2 separate regions of the Homo sapiens genome follow, and region 1 is linked to region 2. The links are contacts of gene promoters, found by promoter capture Hi-C in human tissues and cell types (Jung and others, 2019). All regions are on one chromosome and are shown on one strand. The core of a region is centred on a gene start or on the middle of the fragment in contact, and the rest is flanking DNA. Distances in the headings are between cores, read along the strand shown. Region 1 overlaps HDAC4 (histone deacetylase 4). Region 2 holds the start of CAPN10 (calpain 10).

Region 1 (4,691 bases), core at 1,712-4,211, 1.2 Mb before region 2:
ACTCACTCAGCAGATGACAAAGGACTCACTGAGGTGATGGGGTCATGACAGTGAAGCTGGGATCTCAACCGATGCTCACTCAACACCCCAGAGCCATGGAACACAGGACATCACTGCAAATCACTCTTGTCCACTGCAGGCACATTGGCAGTGTGACGAGCAGGAGAGAGCACATCCACCAATCAGACCCTTCACCCCACACCCACGAGAGCACCGAGGAACCAGGAGAAGGATACGTGAAACAAGAGAAGAGGCCCTCCGCAGCTCCCACGTGCCTCAGCTCTGGCCTCCGCTTAACCAGAAGAATTCTGAAAACAGAACTTCGTCAGAACGCAGCCCGCGTGTGCTGAAGCTGGCACGCTGACATGGAAAGACACTCTTCTTCAGGGAGGGACCGCGGGAAGCACTGCACATGGTTGGTTGTGAACTCCGAAGCCCAAAAGGTCAACATCCCCACCAGCTTGGGAGGTGAGTTGGATGCTCCCACACCAGGCCCCATCCTGCCCGGGCCACCATGCCGGGCAGGGGTGGGATGGCCCAGCCCGGCTGCTACCCTCGGATGGCAGCGGGCATGCACGTAACGGCTCTGCAGGTCAGCTGCTGCCCCAGCCAGCAACCGAGCTACGCTGGGCTGTGCTGCACACTCAGGGGCAAAGGAAAGCAAGCTGCTTCAGGGCAGGCACTCGAAAGGCGAGAAGACACAGGCACCCCAGTGACATCTCCTTTGATGCATCCTTCTGACCTGGAGAGCCAAGGGGCGGATTCCAACACAGAGCCCTTGAGCTGGCAAACAAGTGTTCTCCAAAGAATGGGGACTGTGACCACCTATGAGGATTTTTTCAGTGCAAAATCTGATGTAAATTTTATAGTAGAGGGGGTTTTAATATGCCAGAACCTCCCAATGGTTTTCTTTATGGCTCACTTTAAAGGTCCAAAAGGTCAGAGGGCCACCCACATCCTGCAAGCAAGGAGGCACAGTTGGCATCACTAATTAAGATACACCCCGCTTGTGTGGACCCACAGGCCATCTTCCCCTCCTTGTCCACAGCCCCCAGAGGTGGAATGGGGGTCAGCCTCCTTAGAACACTCTAACCCCTGAGCTTACGGGGCTCGGACATGAGTCCTGGGGGTGGGTAAGTCCTCAATAGCCAGCTGGGATTAGCCCCAGGCCACAGGGAGGACTGAGGCTCAGGGGCCCTTGGCCACGCTCTGCTGACCTGCTGGGGGCCCACTTTCTGCCACTTGACTTACATGGCACGGTGCCAGCCAGCAAGGCCCCTGCAGATGGGCCAGGCTGGGCTCAGCCTCAGACCCGGAATTCTGGTGTGTAAACCGGTGGCACTGGGGGTGCCAGCTCGGGTCCCCCAGCGGGTCCCCTCCAGCACGGTTTCTACACAGACTCCTGGCAGGCTTCAGTCCTGACAGCTACTCTACAGAATCCTGGACCTAGGCACAGAGGAAGCTCTCGCCAGCACTGCTAGAAGGAAGGAACCCCCTCCCTTCTGGATGCGGCCCGTCTCAGAGCCACAGGACTGGGACCCCCGGCGTGTGAGCCACCTTCTTCACCTTGCCCTTGTTTTGGAAGCTGCCCTTGCTTTTCATGCAGAAGTCCCCACAACAGCACCACCAAGCATGTGCCCCAAGGAGGGCCTAGCCGCGCCATGGACCACCTGGAGGCCTCCTTGGGATGCATCTGAATGGGCCTGCCTCCACAAAGTTAGAACAAGAGAGATCAGGTCCATCACCCAGCTGGAGCCAGGCACCAGTGCACAAAATAGAAAGAACAGAAGCAAACTCTCCATTAAATGCAAGAAGACTACACATACATGAAAACGCAAGGAAGTCCTTTGTGCAGACCACACCTCCACCCCACCCAGGCAGCCTGCCAGTTGGCCCGGCTCATCACTGGCTCACGCACTCTGGCCTCAGAGACCTCAGTCACCAGGCCACCATCTGGCCACAATGCCCTTTTCACAATGCAGCCCCGAAACTCTGGCTCTGGCTAAAAAGGACCACACCCCATTCCCACCCACCCAGCCTCCCCTTCCTCCTCCTCATCTGGGCCTGGCTCCTGCACCACGGCTCTCCCTACCAAGCAAGCCCTCCAGCCACAGCCCTGGTTCTCAGGATGGTGACCCGTGTGCACCTGCCTGTTTAGCTCCTTTTTCTCCTCTGTCCCTACCAACACCAAAGCCTCTTGTGGGCAGAGGCCAGTTTTCCTGATCAAGCCTGGGGTCATGGGGCTGGCCACTGCGTCTGGCACAGAGAATGTGTTCAACTGAGTCTCATCTCATGTAAAACCTAGTACTTGGGCTGGGGTGTAAAATGAGTATTTGCAAAATAATAACTAATCAATTAGAAATATTCAGGGAACATGGCCCCCAAGGACCACCCCCCCTCCACCCCCAACCCCACCACCAGGGAGGCCAGTGGAGATACCACAGAAACTTCTCTTCCTCAGTTTAAAAAAGAACCGCTCCAGCAAATAGCAACACATAAACCAGATGATGGGCCATTCCCAAGGGAAAATGCAATTCCATCACCGCTTGAACAATACTCCCACTTGGAATGCTGGTTCAGACTTTCAGGTCCTAAGAACTGATTTATTGTTTCAAGCTTAAACATCAATCCAGCAAAAGCACTTGACTCACACAGACGGAGTACTTCATAAACAACAGTAAACTCACAAAGCCCAACACTCACATTTTTAAACAGAGCAGACTCCAAAATGTTTATGTACACAAACATATTAATGTATCATATTAAAATTATGACGCTAAATAAGAAGTGATTAAATAATGTCATTAATTCTAATTTAAAACAAGCAGAGAAAAACTTCTTCATAAAAGCACCACTCGCCTCCTCACACGCCGGGGCCCTGGGCGAAGCGGCTGGAGAACAAGCTGCACACACCTGCCTTGGCCTTGGCACAACAGTCGCATTTGCCACTCGACAGCTGTGTTGAAGGCCCTTCTCCCTCCCATTCCTTTCTGCATCACAGAATTCCCTCCACTTGCATTTATGACATCTCCTTAGGAGCATGTAATCTCCAAAATCAGGACCAAGAAGTTCCCAGATGGGGGCAGGGGGTGTCAGGAAACAGGCAATTCCAGAGCACTGGCAAGAACCCCGCAGAGGGGCCAGGCCAGAGGTGGGGCCTCACCCCAGCTCTCCCACCCAAGGCCCGCATTGTGCCATTCACTGGGCTACCTACTCATCCATTCATTCATTCACTCATTCATTTTCTTTCATTCTTCGAGCACCTACACTGCCAAGCACAGGGTACAGAGCAGGCATGAGGCCCTCAGGGCCCCTCAATCCTACAGAGCCCCAGCTAGTAGAAAAGGTGGCATTAAACAACTAAGGTCACAATGAGCTCCTTCCTGAAATTGCACAATGGGATGCTGTTAGAAAGGAGGAAAAAAGCTATTAGGCTAAGTTTAACAGGGGATCAAAGGATGAGAGGATGAGCATGAACTGAGGGGCTGGAGAAGAGGAAGGTAAAGGGAGGCCATTCCAAGGAAGGGGAACAGTGTGTGCAAAGGCCCCGAGGTCAAAGGGGACTTAGAGAGAGCTAGAAAGTAAAGCAGGTGGCAGCTGAAACTCCACAAACACAGCAAGTGCTATCAGATGAGGCTGGTAAAACAGAGGCCAGGATCAGGCAGGCCTTCCAGGGCCCTGAGACCTTAGGATCCTAAGAATACAGGAAAGTCATGCCAGGGTTTCAAGCAAGGGAATGAGAGGTACAAACCTGCTTCTGGTGGAAACCTGGGAGACTGTTTGTAGGATGGGCTGTAGCAGAGCCCGCTCAGACCCCGAGGGTCAGTCCCCACCTTGAAGAGCTTACATGTGAGTTAGAAAAACAAATGCCCCTAAATTCTTCTATTGCAAAGCATATTTATCAACTTGCCAAGGACTTAAAGAGTACTTTTCTTTCCAATGAAGATATCTAAATGTTTTCAAATTACTACTGTAAAAAAGTAATACACGCTTACCAAAAGAATCTCTACAATACCACCATGTATAAAAGAAAAGTGTACCCCGTCTCCTCACCTCTGATGGTTACCTTAGAGACCCATGTACTTAAAACCAGGAGTGGCCCGGGGACTGCTCCAGACCCCGCCTTTCCCTCTTACACTGCACACTTCTGCCTGTCTACACATGGAGGATGCCACAGTGCAGAAATGCCAGCAGGTTTAACAAGTACTCCTTTTATAAATAATGCAGCCCCGACCTCCACACACGTCTGGATATCTACACACTTATCTTCTTTCCTTAGAATAGATTTCAAAATGTAGAACTGTGGGGACAAGGAGAATGGCATTTAAGATTTTGACACTTAAGACTTTTCTAGAGAGCAATTCGGTAATCACTATTTTATGTTTATACATTACATATATAAACTTTTTTGGGGGGGACAGCCCAGGGTCTCGCTGTGTCACTCAGGCTGAAGTGCAGTGGCAAAATCACACCTCACTGCAACCTTGACTTTCCAGGCTCACGTGATTCTCCTGCCACAGCCTCCCAAGTAATGGGGACTACAGGCACACGACGTCATGCCTGATTTTTTTTTTTTTTTTGTAGAGATGAGGGTCTCACTATGTTGCCCAGGCTGGTCTTGAACTCCTGGGCTCAAGTGATCCTCTCACCTTGGCCTCCCAAAGTTCTGGGATTACAGGCATAAGGTACCT
Region 2 (4,158 bases), core at 923-3,422:
GAGGGCCTCATGCTACTTCAACTCAAGGCAGCAAGTAGAAGGGGAGAGGCATGCACAAAGAGATTACGTGGCCATATGGCGAGAGAGGAAGCAAGAGACAACCGCAGGAAGGCTGACTCTCTAACCAGCTCTCATGGGAACTCACCCCTCCACAAAGGACACTAACCTATCCATGAGGGATCCACCCCTATTACCCAAACTCCTCCTACTAGGCACCACCTCCTAACACTGCCTCATTGAGGCTCAAATTTCAATACCATTTTGGGCAGGGGCAGACCACATGCAAATCACAGCATGGGGTAATAGTGGGGGCAGGTTGACACAGGGCTGCTGCCTACCCAGCACCAGCTGTCTCTTGGCCCCTTCCAGATCCTGGCAATCTGGCTACAGGCATGGGCCCAGCCTTGGACACAGATGTGGCCACAGGAAGCTGTTAGCTCTCCAGATCTGATCAGCCTGGGAGAGCGGCACAACAAAGGCTCCCAAAGGAGAGTCGGGATCCTCAGCTAGCCTCAGCTCTGCTACCCACCCATATGTGCCCAGAACAGGAAAGATACGTGTTTCTTACTCCTCCGGGACTCCTAGGTGAAGCTGAGACCAGGCTCTTCTTGAGTCCTCTCAGCTATGGTGCAACCACCAGCCTAGCAAGGAATCAGAAACATCTTCCGGAAGAGTCAGCACCATAGAGGGTGCTGAATGGGCAATGAAGCATCCCGGAGATGAAACATCTGGGCAGTGAGGCATCCCACAGGTGTTGGGCTATGCAGTCACTCCCTTTCTCAGACCGAGGCAAGTACATAAGCACTCTGGGCCCCTAATCAGGGGCCTGGGGCCAGGTGGGATGAAAACAGCAGTGTCCTGCCACCTGAACAACTGCTACTCACGCAGGCCCCACCTGGCCTCTCAGAGGGAGGAACCTGGGACTCCTGAACCAGATTCAGTTTCTCCTTCAACAGCCGGGACTTTTCGCTCCTGACTGCAGAAAAACAGCTTCAATGTGACCATCCTTGATAGTCCGAGGCTGAGTAAAATGGCCTGAGGAGGCAAAATCTGAAAAGCTCTATTAGGTGGCAAACTGCTGTCACTAGAAGAGTTGAGGCCCCCTTCTCCTCCCCTGCCTGACCGCCTTCATTCCTGGGAATGGAACAGGTTCTTGGGGCAAGGGTGAATCCTCGAGCAGGTCCCAGGATCACTATCCTCACCTCCCCGCGGCACTGAATGGCTATAGCTGTAAATGTGCGTCCACGGGGTCACTGTCCAGCCACCAGGACCAGGTGCCTGGCCATCTGGGGAATCGGAAAACGCTCAGCGGGATGCTCTGGCCACCTCCCCTGCCCCCAGTTAAGATGTAGAGCGTTCAACCTAAAATGCCTAGAAACAAAGCCCAGGCCCGGGAAGGTCGAACGAGTGCGACGCCGCTCCCTCAAGCTCTTCCCTCGGAGCCGTCTCATTTCCCAAAACTCCCAAACACATCACAGAGAGAGGTGTTGAGCCAGGTGGTCACTCCCTTTTCCAGAACCACAGCAAGAAGTTGAGCCTGCTGGGCTCCTAACGAAGGCCCTGGGGCCCGGTGGGATGAAAAGCCCTATTAGGTAGCAAACAGCTGTCACTAGAGGGGTTGAGGCCCCCTTCTCCCCTGCCTGACGACGACGGCGGCAGGAACTCGACCGGCGCCGGACAGCTCGCAACTTGCCTTACCAAGCGTAAATCTCGGTTCCTCCCAACTACCCGCGGCCACGGCCTCCGCAGCAGAGCGCCGGAAGCAGAGACGCGTTTCGGGAGGAAGGTGCATGCTGGGAGCGGCGGCGCATGCTGGGAGCTGTAGTCTGCGACGCAACTCGGCCGAGGTGGCTCCCTGGTCCCTGAAGCTCCCAGAGCCCGCGTGTTCAGGCGGTCCCGACACCCCGGCCCGAGCCTCACCGGCTGGAGGACTGAACGCCTGCCGGCCCTCCGGGTATGAGCGGAGGCCGGGATAGCCCTGGGCTCCGCCGCCCCCGGAAGGAAAAAATACAGTGCGGTCCGCCGCCCGACCACGAAAGAGCGGAGCTCGGGAGCCCCGCCCCCTGGGCCTCCGACGTCCGTGGCGCTTTCCGTCGCGCGAGTGCGATTGGGCCGCCTGTCACGTGACCCGAGACCCCACGCCCGGTTGGCTGCCGCCTGGTTACCAATGGGAGACTAGCGGGCCGGCGTACTGGCCTGGTCCAGCACCTGCGGGGCCCTCGGGCTTGGAGGGCTGGGCCGGGCGGGGAACGGGCGGGGCGGGCCGGAGGCGGCGGCGGCTGACTCGCCTTCTCTCCGGGGCTGCGACCCCGAGGCAACCGGCTGCAGATGGGAGCCCGCGGAGCCGAGGATGCGGGCGGGCCGGGGCGCGACGCCGGCGAGGGAGCTGTTCCGGGACGCCGCCTTCCCCGCCGCGGACTCCTCGCTCTTCTGCGACTTGTCTACGCCGCTGGCCCAGTTCCGCGAGGACATCACGTGGAGGCGGCCCCAGGTGGGGCCGTGTGGGGTGCGGTGGGCGCCGTTTCTGGTTTCTGAGATCTCCGCTCCTCGCAGGGAGCGGGGCGGGGTGGGCGGCCAGGGTAGCTCCGAACGCAGGGTCCGCCGTTGTTCTCCTCAGAAGTGGGCGCCCGGCCCCCTCTTTTCGTACCTCCTTCATACCCCCGCCCAGAACGAGCAGGACTCGGCGCTACCCTAAGGACGCTAAACTAGGTCGTGGCCTCCGCCTGCGAGAGCTCCAATCCAGGAGGCTCAGAGCGCTGCGAGAGGCGTTTTAACAGAGCCCCAAACCCCGCCCCACCTGTTTGCTTTCGCCCTGAAGAGCGTTTGTGTCTGCTCCTCCCGCAGAGAGGGCCGCTCGTGCCCCTCTGAAGTGGCTAGGCCGAGCCCACAAAGCAAAGCGTGATAGAATTTCAGTTTTGGATTTTGTGCACCTGCCTTTCCAGTTGTAACACCTAGAAATGGCACCTCCAAGGGATGCCCTGGCCGAGTGCTGTGTTCATATTTTTAGAAATGGTTTATCTGCTGAATAAGACTGCCCAGGGAGCAACCTTGCCCTAAGTGGATGCGGTCTTAGCGGAGACAACTGATGGCCGCCAGTCTTCGAACAGAGCTGGAACTTCTGGGCTCTCGTGACTGAGATGGCTTTGACAGGCCACCTGGTTTCCTTGGACAACACTGAAGGGCCTGGGAGGAGGCAAGGGTCAGACCATGTAGAGCCTTGTCATTGGAATTTGGGTTTTATTTTGTTAAAAGATTGATTTTAGGTGCAGCTGGAGGCCACTAGAGGGTTTTGGTAGAGGAGTGGTTCTCTTGGATGTGTGTTTTTACAAGCTCACTCTTGCTGCTGGGTGGGAAGTGGGTTGTCGGGGCAAGAATGCAAGGGTCCATTGTAGTGGTCCTGGAGAAAGATGAAGGGGCTCAGATTAGCTTGACGACTGTTAGGATGTGGGTTTGGAGTAGATTGGTTTGAGACGTACCTTGCAGGGGGGATCGAGAGGCCATAGTGACTGATTGAAATAGAGGGTGAGGATAGTGGAGGGATCAACATGCCTTCTGGGTTTCTGGCCTGAACAGGTGGGTGGATGGTGGTCCTGGGACAGAGCCTGGGGGTGACCTAGAGTTGGGCTTTGCTCTCACGTCTTCAGGTGGAGCTGTCCTGGAGGCAGGTGGATCTGTCCTGGAGGCAGGTGGATACGGAGCAGGGATAGGCTAGAGGCATTCTTCTGGGAGGCGGAGCATATTAGATGGTTTACAGTCCACAGCCTGGGAGAGTGTCTCGGGGGAGTATCAGTAAAGAAGAAGGGGGCCTTGGGGCTGAGCCTTGAGGAACCCTAACATTTCTTGGGGTCAGGCAGGTGCCCTGACAGATAGACTTGAGAAGCAGCAGGCAGTGAGGGAGAGGACACCCGGGGAGCATGCGGCCTCACAGAAGCTGAGTGGGGACCACCTCAGGGGCAGCAGATGGCTGTTCTGCTGTTGTGAATGCTGCTGAGTAGTTGGGGAAGAGAGTTGGGACCAAGAGAAGCCCAGTGGGTTTGATAACATAGAGGTGACAGCGACATTGATCGAGGCAGTTTAGGGGCCATGATTGGCTCAGAAGCTAGAGGAGCCTGTGTGGAGAGTGAATGGGAAGCAGGTAGTGGGCATGGCAGCTCTTTC

Evidence for each region. Contacts are between HindIII fragments. The study calls those that stand out against the background at their distance.
Region 1: a fragment that was not itself captured here is called in contact with the fragment with the promoter of CAPN10 in region 2 in 1 of the 25 tissues and cell types used here (spleen).

Annotation. Positions count from the first base shown.
Region 1 is chr2:239,391,576-239,396,266 of GRCh38, forward strand. All of the region lies in intron 1 of HDAC4 (histone deacetylase 4), which reads right to left. Among named protein-coding and RNA genes, the nearest start is that of HDAC4, 7.1 kb to the right of the region's middle. The HindIII fragment of the contact is 5,599 bases long and covers 163-4,691 here.
Region 2 is chr2:240,584,562-240,588,719 of GRCh38, forward strand. CAPN10 (calpain 10) reads left to right here and starts at 2,173. Exons shown (of 12, transcript NM_023083.4): 1 at 2,173-2,491. The coding sequence starts at 2,351. It overlaps CAPN10-DT (CAPN10 divergent transcript), which reads right to left and starts at 1,755. Exons shown (of 1, transcript NR_103792.1): 1 at 1-1,755. RefSeq lists enhancers at 360-729, 1,720-1,899, 1,951-2,245, 2,184-3,010 and a silencer at 2,210-2,439. The HindIII fragment of the contact is 9,208 bases long and covers 1,820-4,158 here.